Regions from separate parts of the Homo sapiens genome. Here regions 1, 2, 3, 5 and 6 are each linked to region 4. The links are contacts of gene promoters, found by promoter capture Hi-C in blood cells and fetal thymus (Javierre and others, 2016). All regions are on one chromosome and are shown on one strand. The core of a region is centred on a gene start or on the middle of the fragment in contact, and the rest is flanking DNA. Distances in the headings are between cores, read along the strand shown.

Region 1 (2,700 bases), core at 130-2,629, 180 kb before region 4:
TAACATGGCTGGAAAATTCATTCAAGATCCCAGGATTGGTATTTGCCTGCAGAAAGAGACACTGAGGATTGCCTGGGAAGGACACTGATTACTACAAGTGCTACTGTTTATCAAAGGTGTGTTGGATGAGTTGAAAATATGTCCACACAAAAGCCTGCACATAAATATTTAGGGGCATTTTATTCATTATTGGCAAAACTTGGAAGAAACCAAGGTATCTTTCAATAGGATAAAAAACTGTGTATATCCCTACAATGGAGTATCATTCCGTGATTTTAAAAAATGAGCTATCAAGCCACATAAAAACATGGAGAAACCTTAAATGAATATGGTTAAATGAAAGAAGCTAGTCCAGAAAAGCTGTATACTGTATGAGTCTAACTATATGACATTCTGGAAAAGGCAAAACTATAGAGACAGTAAGAACATTAGTGGATGTCTGGGGTTTAGAGAGAGAGAGAAGGATGACCGGGTGGAGCATAGGGCAGCGAAACTATTCTGTATGATACTATATGTACTGCAATATGTACTATAATGGTGGGTACATGGTATTTATCAAAACCCTTAGAACTTTACAACACAAGGGATAAAAACTCTAATTCAAGCTATGGAGTTTAATTAACATACTGCATCGACATTGGCTCATCAAATATAATCACACTAATACAAGATGTTAATAATAGAGGAAACTGTGTAAAAGGGGAGAGAGATGGTAGAGAGGACATATAGGAACTCTACTTTCTGCTGAACTTTTCTGTAAGTCTTAAACTCCTCTAAGAAATAAAGTCTATTAATTTAAAAAATATGCAGTGATTGCATTCATTGTATGATACATAAAAATCTGGTAACCAATTTTTAAAATTATATTGCAGGCATTCAGTATGTAAGATCCTCCTCTGGGTGCTAGAGGATGTGTAAAAAGAGGAAATTGGTAAGGAAGTGGTTTGCCAGGTAGAGTGGAGAGATCTCCAGACCTCACCCTTATTTCCAATAGTTCACTTGGTAGCCTCAGACAAAAGACTGCCAATTCCTGTATGTCTCAGATTTCTCCCTTGAAAAATGAAGTTTGGGGAGATGAATTATGAAAATCTTTCTACCATAAAAGTCTATAATTTATCATTGTATGCCCTCAAAGGTTGTTTGACAAAACAAGAAGGTTTATGAAATTTTGGGCCTACCCTGATTTCTTTTAGGGCTTTTGTATCTGGGCACACATGTACTTATTTCGAGGGTAAATTAAATCCCCACATTTCTATGTCTTCACAGATCTTCTGCCTTGGGTATTTCTCATAACTTTCAACTGCCCCTTGAGGCCTGAAGTATATAAAAAGGCAGAACTCCAAGTGCGAAGTTCTCACTTAAATCAGTGGATGGCTTACCTGTTCCTAGCCCCTCCATTCCTGGAATGTCATCTCCAAATCTATGGAAAAGAATAAAGGAGAAATTAGCTGAGATTAGAGCAAAAGAATTTTGGAGTCACTCACATGGAGAGTTTCTTGATTCAAGGGGGAAGAAGGAGAGGTTTAAGTGTTTGTATGTGAGAAACTCCTTTAGTTTGCCCTGAACTGGAGCAAAGAAAATGTCACTCAGGCAGGTTTTGGTGTATCCCACTGGAGAGATATTTCTCTCCTGTAGGAACTTAACCTAAAACAATTAAGAGTCAGAAAGAACCATCAGTGGGACAACTTAGTCAAGTTTCACTTTTTATAATAAAAATTGAAATGAGAAAGCAATACAAAAGGCATTAAAAATGATGAATTCATCCATTTGTTTACTTATTCAAAATCATTAACTAAGCATCTATTATATACCAGGCATTTTATTAAGCACAGAGAGTTAAGAAGAAAACAGACAAATTTTCTGAGTGGTCTTAGCCTCGGAGAATAGATACAAATAAATAAATATAAGATATAATGTAAGTTATGATAGCTGAATGTACAAAATGCAAACATGAAAGTAATGATAGTTTGTTAAAGAGAGTCAGGAGTAGCTTCAAAAAGAAATTAGCATATGATCTGTGTGTTGAAAAATCAATAGGATTTTGCCAAGGAGAGGAAGAGGAAAATAAAGAACTGAGGATACAAAATTGGAAGACATAAATATAAGCTATATTTTCTGGAAATGGTCAGTGGTTCAGTGTTACAGATTAACGTAGAGGTTGTCTCAGTAAAGAGGAGTGGTCATCAAAAGCCTGCAAGGCAAAGTCAAAGTTTATTGTAAAAAGCCTCTATTTGCCATGTTAAATTCGGCCACAGACCTGGAAGTTGAGAAGGAAAGAATTCCAGGGATAAAGACACAATTCATCAAAGATGGAGTTACAGAGGAAAAGAGAGGATGGAGTGGAAATTTTTGTAAGTCTGTTTAATATTGTGAGCACCAATTTCCCAAAACAAAAGCAGTCTTGTGGGAAAAAGAAAGTAATAGAAAGTTTTTCTTTTCATTTTGGTCTTACCCTTTCACACCTTTCTTTGGAGGTTTACTCTTGAATTGGCGAGTCTGCCTCTGCTTGAACTTGGGAGGGCCTTTGCGTGGGGTGGTAGGACCCTGGTTTGAAGCTGGAGCAGGCAGAGTAGTGTTGTCACTCATTTTAACTCCCCCCGGGCGGCTGATGTTTCCCTTTCAGCCTCCTTAGACAGTGAAAGATAAAAAAAAGAAGATCTTTCAAGTCATGGGGACCATTGGTTATTAGATCTTTATTTC
Region 2 (2,700 bases), core at 84-2,583, 130 kb before region 4:
CACCTATAAATCTGTAGCACTACATAGTTAGTTGTTTACATACTTTTCCTTTAATCCCAGAGTTAGTTTTAAAAACTATATAACTCCTATTTTTGCCTATTATCTCAGTGCTCTAAAATTATTCTAACCTACATGCAGGAATGAGTAAATAAATGCCCTTTAAACAAAAATAGAGTTGGTTATGTTAGTTTGTTTGCTATTTCACCGTTAAACAAATTGTTCCCAGAAGAGTTGCTTCTCATGTGTATCTACAACAGTGCAGCCAAACTAGGCAGGCCTTTATGATTTTGAGGCCTCTCTCAGCCCCTAGTAAACTTCAAGCTCTATGACAAGGCCTGACAGGAGTCTCAGGCTCAGCTACAATTTCGTGGTTACCTATTAACTTACAGAGCCTGGAAAATTCAAGAATGTCACTGCCAGTTAAACCTGAATTGTTAGGGGTAAATCATGTGTTACTGGGCAGTAAATCAAATCTATGATTTCTGGTAAACATCATATCATATTTCTTTTGCCTATCGTTTGTCTCTGCCCTTCGAAATAACCACTGTGGTATTATTTTTTCTCTTGTTTTTAGGATTTAGAAATACCAGCAGTGCCCATACTCCATAGCATGGTGCAAAAATTCCCAGGCGTGTCATTTGGGATCAGCACTGATTCTGAGGTTCTGACACACTACAACATCACTGGGAACACCATCTGCCTCTTTCGCCTGGTAAGTTGGGTGGGTAGCTTGAGCTTTCTCCCAGATTTTCACTGGGTTGTGGACTCATAAACTTGTGAGACTGGAAAGGACTCTATGTCTTTTACACTAATGATGGTACCAAATTCAGGGACATTGTTGACAAGGATGATGACTCAATTCAAGCTTCCCAAACAGGTACTGTAATGAAATGGAAAGAGGACAGGACTGAAAGCCAGGGAATGGAATTTGTGGTACTGCTTTGTCGCTCAACAGCCACATGACTTTGGGCAGTCACTTAACATTTTTTATCTCCAATTCTTTCCTTTATAAAATAAAAGAGTTAGACTGTATTATCTCTAAGGTCACTTTGAGCTCCAAAATTTTTATATTAAATATTTTGAGGAGTTCATTTATGTTCTTCAAACATTTATTAAATACTTCCTGTATGCCCTATGCAAGATACCGATAATAAAAACATATTAAATATATTCTCCAGTCTCATAGATCTTTAAGTATGGTAGGTATTGTATATATAATATGCAAGTATCTATAATAAAAAGAGAATCACTATGGGTAAAGTTTTATCACAGTTCAAAGGATAGAAACAGTGTGGGAATTCTGAAAAAAAAGAAAAGAAAAAGACAACAGAATTGAAACTTGAAGGATAGATAAGTTTAGACAAGCTAAAGAATTCATGGCCAACGGGAAAAAACTCAGGAAACAATAAACAGGCCAATCTCACTGGATCCCAGGGTACACATTGGGGAAAATGAATATAAGAGAAAGAAACTTGATTAAAATCGTATTGTGGGGAAAAAGTAGAATACCACTTTAATGAGTTTGTCCTGAATTTGGCTGTTACTGGAAAGCCCCTAAAGCCTTTACATCAGGGGAGTAACATGAACAGAAATGTGTTTTATTAGATTATTTTGACAGCAAGGTGGAGGATGGATTTTTAGGTTAAAAGGCAAGAGAAGAGGGAGCTTTTGTTAGGCTGACAAAATAGACCATGTGAGAAGTATTAAGAGTCTGTAGTAGAGAGGTAGCAACAGAAATTAAAGAAGAGGAAGATCCTGTGATCATTAGATATCACAGTTATGGAAAGCAGGCAAAGCTTAAAGCCAGGGTGTCTAAGAATAGTGAGGTCATGTGCAGAAATAGGGGTTTCTGATGCTTTCATTGGTCATTGAGTTCTACTTGTTGGTGGAATATCAAGAGTCCACTGAAAAAGAGTAAATTGATGGAAAAGAAAAAGTTTTCAGTATTTCGGGACTGAATGTCGTGCCCCTTCTAGTTTCCATCCTTTCTTTCCCTTTCTTTTCTCATTGAAACTTCTTTAAGTGTATTTTGTACTGTCTTTCTCTAAACTAGACACTACTATCTAGTTTATGCCCCCATCACACCATTAAAACTACATTTATCCAGGTCTGCATGGCTTCCATATTGCCAAACTCAATGAACCCTTTTTAGGTCTTATTTTACTCAACATTTCTGTCATGTATGATGTTAGTGATGACTTCTTTCTTTTTAATGTTCTCTCTTTCCTTGAATTCTAGGAAACTACTTCTCCTGATCCTCCTGCTGCTTTTATAATCTCTTTGAGACCTTCTCTTCCTGTATCTACAATGCTGCCTGACCCAACACTTTTTACAGTCTGGGTCATGGAACCCATGCTATGTGAAGGCAAAGACTGTTCTGTTCAGTGTATCCACAGAGCCTAGAACAGTGCCTGCTGTGCAGTAGGTGCTCACTAAGTATTTGTTTAGAATGAATATATGAAGAATCAATGAATGAATGAATGAATGAATGAATATGTTCTTCTTAAGAAGTACAATTCTTTTGCATATTCCACTATTATGTGCTTGCGGAACATTTAGAATATTTTATCCCTAGTCTGGACTTCTCTCATGATTCAAATGTTTGCTGGGTATATACCCTCATAAGCACTATACTCTTAAAATGTTCAAAACTGAATTTATTGTCTGCACCTGCTAATCATATTCCTCCATCTAAGATAC
Region 3 (2,700 bases), core at 121-2,620, 200 kb before region 4:
TGAGGGTTAGGTGAGTTAGTATAGCCAACGCATTGAGAGTAACGCCTGGTATAGAGTAGCTAGTATTGGTACTTGCAGTATTACATATCTTCTCTCACCTTCTAAATCTTGTGCCTCTTAAGGGCAGGGATCACATCTTATTTATCTTGGTATCTCTCAAAATACGTAGTAAAGTATCTTGTATACAGTAGCTGCTCAATAAATATTTACAGACCCAAATTTGCTCTTAAAGGACAAAGGCTGTATATTATCTAGTTGTTTGGGATAACGGTCATTACATTTTTTTAAAAAACCCAGTGATGTGGGAAAATAAGAGAAAAGATCTTTTGGGAAAATATCAGTGAGCAAACCATTCCCATGAGAAAGTTTCCATCGGGTTGGAAACAACTTTTAAAAATCTTCCATAGTAGAAGCAGAGACTTGGTCTCCCCGGGCACTAGTCTCTGCCTTCTTAGAACAGCCTGGAATATAACTACTGTTTAGAAGAGCTGAGCCTCTCCTGTGATCCCATTCTCTTCCTTCTTTTTTCGCCTTCCCAGCTCTATACCTCACCCCAACCTCTTTCCCATTCCACTGGAGCCCTCTTTGTCCCAGGAGAGCTAATAGTAAATTCTTTATTGCTGTAGCTTTATTGCCTTTAGCTCTGGAAACTGTGTGCTTCCAGGCTGTAATTACGTTCCATTTATAAATATTATCTCTAAGAGAATAGCTAATAGCTTTTTTGTAACGCTATCTGTAATTCTGTTGCTGCTAAATTAATGTGTCAGCCAGAATCTTGAAGTAAACAAAGTTTATAAATTGATTCCTGTAGAATGATGTAAGATCTTACTAAACCCTAATACTGCTCAGATGAGAACAGCTCAGTTAATCAGCTAATAAGCCAGCAGTGAAATTAAAAATATAATTGAACATTCAGAGCAGTCTCCAAGAACCATGACAAATTAAAAATAAAACCCAACATGCGAATATCAGTTGCTTTGTGAAAAAGTCAGGTTACCCAGCCTCCAGAGGTTCATGTAGTTAGGTTCAAGCTAGCTTTTCCCATAAAACAGTTCAGATAGAAACAGTCTTTAACCTGCACATCAAAGTTTCAGGAAATGAAATGAAGAACATAAAGCATAGTTAGCTCTTTGACTTCCACATAGAGTCAGTAGACAAAAATGTTTCTTGAAAAGAGGGGAATGTCCACTCTGATGTCTTAGTTGTAATGACAGTGTCATGATGAGGATAGGATGGTGGCTGGATTCTATCTTCATACAAAGGAGTTCTGACAAAATTATGTGGAATCGCCTTCCCAAAACGAACAAGCACAGTAGCAAATATTAGCAAATATCTGCATAGTTTAACTGAAGAGATTCACTTTTTCTCAAGAGGCAGGTAGTCTTAGGTAATGATAAACTGTACGAGCTCTGAGGACAGAACTTCTTGGGTTTATATTAAAAAAAAAACTATTTCATTTGGACAATTTGTGCCAGTTTTTTTATTTATAAAATGGATGGAAGTTATAAAGATTAAGCAAGTTAATACAATTAAAGTGACTAAAACAGGACGTAGGACATCATAAGAGATCAATAAATATTTGCTATTATTATGTTACTACACTTATTATTTAGAATTATTTTATTTAGAATAATTATTAGGATTGTTTAGTTTTGAATTCTTACATCATTTAGAATTATGAGTCAGCTCTCCTCTAATTTTTGCTACCTTCTTTTATTCTTTTTCCCTTTGGTCAGGGGTTAAAGGGTTCACAGACTTTTTCTTTTTATTTTTACTTCAACTTTAATTTTAAGTTCAGGGGTACCTGTGCAGGCTGTACAGGTTTGTTACATAGGTGAATGTGTGCCCTGGTGGTTTGCTGCATAGATCAACCCATCACCTAGGTTTTAAGCGCAGAATCCATTAGCTATTATTCCTGATGCTCTTCCTCCTCCCATGCCCCAACAGGCCCCAGTGTGTCTTGTTCCCCCTGATGCATCCATATGTTCTCATCATTCAGCTCCCACTTATAAGTGAGAACATGCAGTGGTTGGTTTTCTGTTCTTGCATGAGTTTCCTGAGGATAATGGCTTCCAAGTCCATCCATGTCCCTGCAAAAGACATGATTTCATTCCTTTTTACGGCTGCACAGTATTCTACGGTGTATATCCACACCATTTTCTTTATCCAGTCTATCACTGATAAGCATTTAGGCTGATTCCGTGTCTTTGCTATTGTGAATAGTGCTGTTCTTGCTACCTTTATATCTAGCTCAGGAATTGCCAAGCTGTGGTCACTGACACTATTGTCTTGAAGAGATATTCTGACAACCTTGTCTCTATGACCCCAGAAAGACAATTCCATTAGTCCTATGTGGGAAATATTTTTTTTTAACTGAGGACCAAGCAAACATAAAGATGATTAAAATCTGAAAAGACAGATAATGCATAACATTCTGAAGTGACTTGCTACTACTTCTGAAGAAACTGAGGTCCCTGGGGATTCTTTGTAGTCCCTGGGGCCCCTCTATTCCTGGAGGCACAAGGAACACAGGCAGTGTGCCCCCTCCTCTGAGCCGTGACTTCCCTTTTCATCTGTGGAGATTCCTATTTCTCAAGGCTGGCTTCAAAGTGGATTGCAGTTCTCCCCAGCCTTTTCCTCTTTATGCTATCTCCCCACACTAACTAACAATTTTTCATTCAACAATTTTACTATTAATCA
Region 4 (2,700 bases), core at 121-2,620:
ACTGCTCAGCATATCTTAAAAATAGTAGCTACATATAAAATTTTAGCTACATGAAAGACTTTAATATTTCCAACATACACTGTTTTCTCTTTCTCTTCTTGCATTGTTTTTCAAAACGAGTTGCAAAACTATGATCACTAATGTGTTAGGAAAGAAAAAAAACTAGTTGCAAAACATTACAACTTAGCTCACCTTCGCAGTTCAAGATTATTTTCTTTTTTATGTACTACCTGGTTTATCAGCTTTAACCTACAATATCTCGTCATTGCTTTCTGACACTCAAATTCAGTCTAAAATCAAATCAAGAATTTCCTAACACAAAGGTAAGTTTAGGTATAGGACCGATCTTATACCTTCAAGGGCAGTTTAAAGATTCTGCTAAAAATTAGTATGTATCTCCATCAATATTTTGAAATATTTATAACTGGTGGTAAGAATAGCCTTCCTACATGGGATAGTCAGGTTAAGATTAGAAATAACCAAGCGTATCCTCTAAGATAGTTTTTTAAATGTTTAAACTTACCTTTAAGGGAAATAAGTGGGGGCTGACTCACGGAAAGAGGGGATAGAAGGTAGGGAAAGGGCGAAGGCTAGAGTTAAGTGAAGAATCCCGTACGTAGAGTGACATCATAGAGGACTTTTGGCTGGTGAAAAGACCAGTCGGGAATATAGCCAATATATATCAACCTTGCCACTCATATAACTTAAAACCGACTGCATATGTATCCCCGTATTTCTTCTTCAAAACACTACTAACAAATAATAAATCACCGCCCATATAAGCAATCTGCGACTCTAATACGGGTGCTAATTTATTTGTTCAGGTGGTCTACAAACGTTCTGTTCTGCCTGTCTATTAAATTTCCACACGTACTAGGCGCTCACATGGGATAACCTGATGCTTACAAAGCGGATTAAACTCAGTGGCAAATGTTATCTGGGTATTCGTTTACACACGGAGACACCCCTAAAGGATCGCACCTGCTTGGGTCATAAGAAACAGAAAAATGCAAAAACTAAGGTAATTCCAAAAGACAGAAAACGCAGAACGCTTCTTTATCTGCAGAATGTACCGTTCTCGGACGGCTCAACGTACCAGGCTCCCAGCAACTAAGTCAAGATGCCTCCAACTCGAGAGACAGGACCGTCAGCCACTCAGTTAGCAGCTATCTTCTTCTAATTCCTATTGTACTAGATGAGCGCAATGAGGCGGGCTCTTAGCCGACAACCAACCAATTGAGTATTGTATGGAACCGGAAGAGACTCTGGTCCTGGAATTCTTGGGTATTCTCTATGGTTCCAGGGTCAAGCGGCGCTAAGAGAAGGCGGGACAGAGGAATGGGAAATGACGTGAGGAGTGCGGAGGGGCGCGAGGTTTCAAGATGGCGGTAGCTGAGGGGTTGACCGAGAGACCCAGTTGAAGGCCTTTACGAAGTGAAAGAGGCCGGGAGTCGCCCCCTACCCGCTTCTCGTAGTCCTGGGAGCACAGCAGAAGTGTGAGTGTATTGAATTGATTTACTACTCTTCCTCACCTCTTTCGTCCCTTCCACGTCCCGCGCAGCGGCTTGGGGGACACCCAGCCCCTTTGCCCCGCTCCTCCTCTCCCTGGTTGAGGTCTCCCTGTTGCGGACTGGGCTATTCCTGGGCCTGGGGTGGCGCGGCGACCAGTGGTTGCGCGGTTGGCATCGCCCGGGTCGGTTGGGGCCGCTTCTTACGCACGTTGATTAGTAGCCTTAGGTTTGACGTCTTGTACCTCGAGTCATGGTCGGTCAGCCGTCGCTATGGTTTCGTCAGTTGCTGGTGTTGCCTCCTTTGGTGAACCTGGACCCTATCCCATTGAAGCTTCTTTGGCTGTTTAGAGTTATCCAACGCTTATTTGGCTTGATTTTCCAGTCGCCTCCGCTTGTAGACAAAAAACTAATCTGCAGACTTAAGCTCCAGTGTCTTCCGTAAAATTCTCTGTAATTCGTATCCGTTGTGTTTCATTTGTGGGGGAGGAGATTCAGAACATGAGCCTGAGGAAACTTGAGAAAGGAAAGCACAAAAAACGCAGGCAATCAAAGATGGGAGAGCTTGTATATGTACTGATTTTGCTTGTTTTCCTCCTTCCCTACCTCCTACTCCCTGCTGCTCTCCCACCCCCCTAACCCCCCCATCCCCAGTTTTTCTTAGAAGGAAACCACTTGACAGGGTGTATGGTAGCTAGGCCAGGAATATGGATCCATTATAAAGATTTTAGTTAAGTAGTGAGTCAAACATCACAGGATATTTTATTTGTAATCTCATTGTATCATCAGAGCTTTGTTATAAAGTAATTGATGTCCCCATTTTTTAGATGAGGAAGCTAAAAATCAGAGCCTTTGATACCGCTGTCTTGAAGTAATTGCCACCAGAACAGCTGTGAAACATCTGGCTTTCTGAAACATCTGGCTTTCGGGGCAGTTGGACACTTGGTGAAAGAGACATTAACTGTAATAAACTGGGCTGACAAAATCTTCCCTTTCTTACCTTTAAAAAGTGTCTACTTGCAAAAGGAAGCAAATTTGTCCGCCTTTATTACTGGAAAGACTGCGCTTCAAAAAATTAAGCCCCATTATTTTGGAATAAGAGGAAGAAGTCATGTAATAGGGTACTGTGTTAATAAAAGTTTTAGCTTACAAAATATTTTTTCCTCAAACAAAAATAAGTATTCCCTTTAAT
Region 5 (2,700 bases), core at 179-2,678, 150 kb before region 4:
CATGAGGATGTGAGGCCTCCAATGTGAAAGTTAATCTGTATGCGCATCTGTGAAGCAGAAAATACAGAAAACTAGAGTAGCAAGCCTGTGTGAAAAAATGATATGTGCTTTGGGGCCTAATAAATGGGGTCCACATTAACCTGGTTAAACATATAACTGTTCATTCTCCATTTCATTTTTCCTGTGCAAAGGACCAAAGTCAAAAATAAGCAAAACTCAGCTCTGCCCTTTGTAGAATAGGGGATGAGCAGCTGAGGAAGGTGAGGAAAGCCCATCCAGAAGATTCTATGCTGATGGGCTGAGTCCTCCCCAATCTCCCTTTTACTTCCTCTTTTCTTTTCTCATTTCACAAGCTTCTTTAAATTAGGGAGCATTTGAGTCATTAAATTAAGAAGGGGCCTCAGAGATCCTCTCATGCCACGGCTTCTTTTTGCAGAGGATGAAACTGGGGCCCAGTGAGGTTAAGCAACTTGCAGGAGGTAACGCAGGAACCGAGTTGCGCTGAAACATCGTTATCTGACACTTCCCTGCTTTGTTAAAGCTGTCTCTGCAGAGCTTGCAAAGAAGCATTTACCTCTGCTTGTGCACCTCCAGGTAGATTCCCAAGATGACTAACAAACTCTAATTTTATTATAACTTCTTAAAGATGACTGAAGCAATAAAGCATAGTGCCTAAAAGTCAGACAACCTGGGCGCAGACATTAATTCTGCCTACCACGTGGTATGTCTTCTTAGGCAAGTTACTTAACGTGAACTTTAGTTTCCTGGTCTGGAAAAGAGAATGATGATGCCAACAAAGTTACTGTAAGAACTAAATGAGATAATCCTCTAGAAAGCACTTAGCACTACATGTGATAACTATTATAATTTGTATTAATAATATCAATATTATCAATAGGAAAATCAGTTGTCCTTTAGATGATGGGATTGGAAAACAGTCTGTAGAATTTTCATAAAATTCCTATTCTCATTTCAACACACATCCATAAAATAGGAGGATAAAAAGAGAAAATTGTTGTTTGTGGTTAAATATGCACACAGATAATTTGAGAAATCATTGTCAAACTGTATATGCCATTTATGGCTGGGGCTTCGGGAGAAACTGAGGTTACCCAGAAATAACGTTAAAAATGCAGTACAATGCTTAATAATATTGTATTGTACTTGAGTTTTGCTGAAGAGTAGATTTTAGGTGCTCTTGCCACACACAAAAAAAAGTGGGTGAGATGATGGATATGTTAATTTGCTTGACTATAGTAACCTTTTCACTATCTATGTATCCCAGACATATTTTACATCTTAAATATATACAATAAATACTTTTTAAGAAATTGATTCATAGGAGGTATTTATGTATTCCCGATATCAATCTCTTGTTAATACATGCATTGCGAATGTCTCATTTTTAGAATCCAGACCATTACTCTTTTCACTGTCTATAGGGTGATATTAGGAAAGGAATTTTAAATGCTTGTGTAATTGAAATATTTAATATTTTCTTCTATGTCTTAGTTTTTGCACTTGTAAAATGTAATTGTGCCTACCTCACAACATTGCGATGACTGAATGAAATAATGCATGCCAAGCACTTATCCCGTACTAACTGAGTTTTTGGCTCACAAGTGTTCAGTAACAATTTGCTATTACTATTATGGTACCCTTTATTATGCAAAGACCTGTTCAGTGAAAGAAAAATAATTTTATGTCTGGGAGAAAAATAAGTAAAATAAAATAAAATAAAATATGCAGCATCTGTTGGGGATTCACATACATTTTATTTTTTAATTTTTAAATTTCCTTTTAAAGATGAATTTTATTGCATATATTTAAGGTATACAACATAATGTTTAGGGACACACATCGATAGTAAAAATGTTAGTGAAGCAAATCAACATATCCATCATCTCACGTAGTTACCCTTTTTTTGTTTCTGTGCCAAGAGCAGCTAATGTCTACTCACTTAGCATGGGGATTCACATACATTTTAAATAACAAAACACAGACAGATATTCTCTCATATTCACAGGTGAAATAAGGTAACTGAATGGTAACTTAGCTGACCCATGACTGCAGGTCAGGAGAAATATGCGGAGGCCTTAGAAAAGTAATCATCTAAAGATGATGTGCTCTAATCCCTCATCCCCCAAGATGAGGAAACTCAGATCCGCAGTGGTTGCAACATTCAGTTAACAGGGGAAAAGCTAGTTAGTAGGAAAGCCAGAACCCAAACCCAGGCATGCATAACAAGGCCTAGTTCAATGAAGAGAGCATTATCCAAAATCAAACGGAATGACCACGGAATTCTCCTAAGGGTCTACTTCCTGCACCCATGTGCACCTGGGCTTCTCTGCCAGGCTTTGTGGTCATGCGCCCTCAGACACAGGTGTCACCTGATATCTTCTGCTTCAATATATTCAACACTTTGAGCAGGTGGACATGACTCTCAGCTTGAGACTAAGTTGTGTCAATGATCTGGTGGAGCTCCAGGAAAAAGCAAGCTTCTGCCCAGGCACCTGTAATCCCAGCACTTTGGGAGGCCAAGGCGGGTGGATCTCTTGAGCTCAGGTGTTCAAGACCAGCCTGGGCAAAATGGGGAAACCCTATCTCAACCATAACTACAAAAAATTAGCCAGGCAGGTGGCATGTGCCCGTAGTCCCAGCTACTCAGAAGGCTGAGGCAAGACAATTGCTTGAGTCCAG
Region 6 (2,700 bases), core at 42-2,541, 170 kb after region 4:
AGTACAGCTGCTCCTAGCCCTGCCTTCTCCTCATTCCTTTCTTTCGTCCTGCTTTTCCGAATTCCAGGATTCCTCCACACAATCAGCATATCCTTTCTCAAGCCCTTTTTTTCTAATCTGAGTATATCCAAATATTAAAACCTTATTCACTAAAACAGCATCATCTTTAATTCATTTGTGTAGTTGGACAGTTCTGGAATTAGAAATGAGGAATAAAATTTCATGTCAAGTAACTGATTCCAACAGAATACAGAGTCGAAACTAGATCACTCAGCAATGCCCCAGAAACACCCAGTAGAGTCGTCTCTCCATCCATAGGGAATTGGTCCCAGGAACCCCTGTGGATACCAAAATCCACAGCGGCTCAAGGATCTGATATAAAATGGCATATCATGTGCATATAACCTGCATACATTATCCTATGTACTTTAAATTATCTCTAGATTGCTTATAATCCCTAACATGATGTAAATACTATGTAAATATTTGTGGTACTGTATTGTTTAGGGAATAATGACAAGAAAAAAAAGGTCGGTACATGTTCAACACAGACAAAACCATCCTGTTTTTTCCAAACATTTTCCATTCCCATTTGGTTGAATCCACGAATGCAGAACCCATGGAGACAGAGGGCTGACAGTATTTCACTCTGTGGCACAGGATCGGCCCAGTTTGCTGTTTCTGCCTATTCTGCTCTAAGGTAGTCAGCAGATGACTTACCAAGGCAGGAGCATCATCTAGTGGTGAATATTGGCACCACAGGCTATACCGCGGCTCTAGTTCCTTCCCAGGGAATTGTTCAGACAAAGTACAGGGACAGGGATTGCATCTAGTATCACTTATGATCTTGTTTTTAGCCGGAGTGAAAAACAAAGTTTATTTAAAACAAATGGTTTTCACCACACATTTTGATTTAAAAAAAAAAAAGCTGCAAACAGGTGGTAGCAGATGAGCAGTTGGGCTTCCTCCTGTCTCCCTACCTCTTCCTCCATACCTCCCTTTTTTCCATGTCACTTCTCTACTGCAGCTGTGCATTATAATCACCAAAGAGCTTAAAAATCTACCACTGCCCTTTGCCCATACAATATTTGCGACATACTTATACTAAGGAATTACTTATTGTTTATCTGAAATCCAAGTTTAACTTGATGTCCTTTATTTTTCTTGCTAAATCTGGGAACCCTACTAAGACCACTTCAAAATATATTAAATCAGAATGACTTAGGGTGGTGCCTGGGCATAAGAAATTGTGCAGATGCTCCCCAGGTGATACTATTGTTTGCTATAAGTTAGAACCATGGACAGTACGGCTTTTATTCCATTTGGAGCCATTTGCCTCATATTCACTGAGCCTTTGTTCCCCCACCAAACTGAGGGTTGGGCTGATATTTCTCGTGGCCCAATAACAAGATGCAGATGAACTGAGGAGGAAGAGAGTTTTTATTTCTGTAACCAGTTACAGGGAGAAGGCCTGAAAATTACATTTTTTTTCAGAGCTTATATACCTTCGAAGCTATATGTCTACATGTAAGTATGCATTCATTTAAAGACATACGTGATTAACTTCTTTTAATCTACAACTAAGGTCTGAGTCCTGAAGACCTTCTCCTGGAGCCTCAGTAAGTTTACTTAATCGAAGTGAGTCCAGGTGCTGGAGTGATTACCCTTATCTTGTCTCCTGCTAAATTACAGAGGTTTAGGGAGTTCCTTCAGACCCCCAATAAACTTCTTTGTGGAGGCCTGGGGAGTTTCTTCAGACCCCCAATAAAAGTTGTTTAATCCTAAATGGGTCCGGTTAAGAAGAATTCCTTCGTTATTTTGTCATGTTTTAAGGCCCAGGAAAGGCCTAGGCAAAACTCTTGGTGGGCTTTTGTTACATTCCAGCCTTTGTATAAGGGCACTGGCTTTTAATATTTAACTTAACCACTCAGTCAGTACTAAAACGGTTGTTATGGAGGCCTGCCACACCTTCACTATTTTTTTCTCTCTCCAACGTAAAACTTGCAAGCTCTTGTAAATTCACTTAGTCTCCCGTATCAACCCGGCCTCATCTAAATTGGTATCACATATTTCATTAATTTCACCCAAGGGAATAACTGGATAAGATAATGCAGGTGGTCATGCCTGAGACAGAAACCAGAGAGCTGGGGATCTCTTGTCCGCACTGAGTTGAAGATATTTTTAAACTATTCCTTGCCTTAATCACTCCCATCAATGAGAATAAGAATTCTCTCTTGATTTAGTTTACTATCCCCTTAGCTAATTTGCCCGTTTTTTTTTCTTCCAGGTGTACCTACTTGTAAAAAACTGTTGGGAGGAAGATCCAGAAAAGAGACCAGATTTCAAAAAAATTGAGACTACACTTGCCAAGATATTTGGGTATTGCTGAAATGTTTACTTTTATTCACTAATTGCAGGGTTTTAAAAAAATTATAGTTGACATTCAGTGGCACCTTAGAATGAGAATGTCTATTCCAGTGAAAAATCCCAGGTGGCAACCAACAACTGCCTCATAACATTAAAATGATATGGAGACTATTAGACCGTTTTCCCAGGGAAATAATCACTTGAAAAGTTACATACTCAAGGTCAAAACTTTTCTGATTAAAAAACAAACTTTAGCTGATTATAAATTTGTCTGTTAAAAATAGAGCTTCTGGGTCCTTCTGTGGGTAATTAGGATTTAGAAGTGTAGCGTGA

Evidence for each region. Contacts are between HindIII fragments. The CHiCAGO score rates a contact against its expected background, and 5 or more counts as called.
Region 1: a fragment that was not itself captured here is called in contact with the fragment with the promoter of WBP11 in region 4 in 11 of 17 cell types (total CD8 T cells, fetal thymus, naive CD8 T cells and 8 more); the score reaches 10.3 in total CD8 T cells.
Region 2: a fragment that was not itself captured here is called in contact with the fragment with the promoter of WBP11 in region 4 in 7 of 17 cell types (total CD8 T cells, naive CD8 T cells, naive CD4 T cells and 4 more); the score reaches 9.5 in total CD8 T cells.
Region 3: a fragment that was not itself captured here is called in contact with the fragment with the promoter of WBP11 in region 4 in 10 of 17 cell types (naive CD8 T cells, neutrophils, fetal thymus and 7 more); the score reaches 8.2 in naive CD8 T cells.
Region 5: a contact is called between a fragment that was not itself captured here and the fragment with the promoter of WBP11 in region 4, in 13 of 17 cell types (fetal thymus, total CD8 T cells, naive CD4 T cells and 10 more). The highest score is 22.4, in fetal thymus.
Region 6: a contact is called between a fragment that was not itself captured here and the fragment with the promoter of WBP11 in region 4, in 1 of 17 cell types (neutrophils). The highest score is 5.5, in neutrophils.

Annotation. Positions count from the first base shown.
Region 1 is chr12:14,977,899-14,980,598 of GRCh38, reverse strand. PDE6H (phosphodiesterase 6H) reads right to left here. Exons shown (of 4, transcript NM_006205.3): 2 at 2,453-2,627; 3 at 1,380-1,420. The coding sequence starts at 2,586. Among named protein-coding and RNA genes, the nearest start is that of PDE6H, 6.2 kb to the right of the region's middle. The HindIII fragment of the contact is 3,225 bases long and covers 1-2,700 here.
Region 2 is chr12:14,932,868-14,935,567 of GRCh38, reverse strand. ERP27 (endoplasmic reticulum protein 27) reads left to right here. Exons shown (of 7, transcript NM_152321.4): 3 at 575-712. Among named protein-coding and RNA genes, the nearest start is that of ERP27, 4.3 kb to the left of the region's middle. The HindIII fragment of the contact is 931 bases long and covers 868-1,798 here.
Region 3 is chr12:15,005,751-15,008,450 of GRCh38, reverse strand. It overlaps LINC01489 (long intergenic non-protein coding RNA 1489), which reads right to left. Exons shown (of 4, transcript NR_120466.1): 4 at 1,768-2,090. Among named protein-coding and RNA genes, the nearest start is that of LINC01489, 5.3 kb to the right of the region's middle. The HindIII fragment of the contact is 5,674 bases long and covers 1-2,700 here.
Region 4 is chr12:14,802,148-14,804,847 of GRCh38, reverse strand. WBP11 (WW domain binding protein 11) reads left to right here and starts at 1,370. Exons shown (of 12, transcript NM_016312.3): 1 at 1,370-1,496. It overlaps C12orf60 (chromosome 12 open reading frame 60), which reads right to left and starts at 1,178. Exons shown (of 2, transcript NM_175874.4): 1 at 1,097-1,178. SMCO3 (single-pass membrane protein with coiled-coil domains 3) reads left to right here. Exons shown (of 2, transcript NM_001013698.2): 2 at 1-198. RefSeq lists an enhancer at 835-1,074. The HindIII fragment of the contact is 2,157 bases long and covers 1-1,844 here.
Region 5 is chr12:14,954,070-14,956,769 of GRCh38, reverse strand. The region is part of intron 1 of ARHGDIB (Rho GDP dissociation inhibitor beta); the gene reads left to right. Among named protein-coding and RNA genes, the nearest start is that of ARHGDIB, 6.2 kb to the left of the region's middle. RefSeq lists an enhancer at 435-604. The HindIII fragment of the contact is 2,145 bases long and covers 356-2,500 here.
Region 6 is chr12:14,628,325-14,631,024 of GRCh38, reverse strand. It overlaps GUCY2C (guanylate cyclase 2C), which reads left to right. Exons shown (of 27, transcript NM_004963.4): 20 at 2,288-2,379. Among named protein-coding and RNA genes, the nearest start is that of GUCY2C-AS1, 36 kb to the left of the region's middle. The HindIII fragment of the contact is 6,504 bases long and covers 1-2,700 here.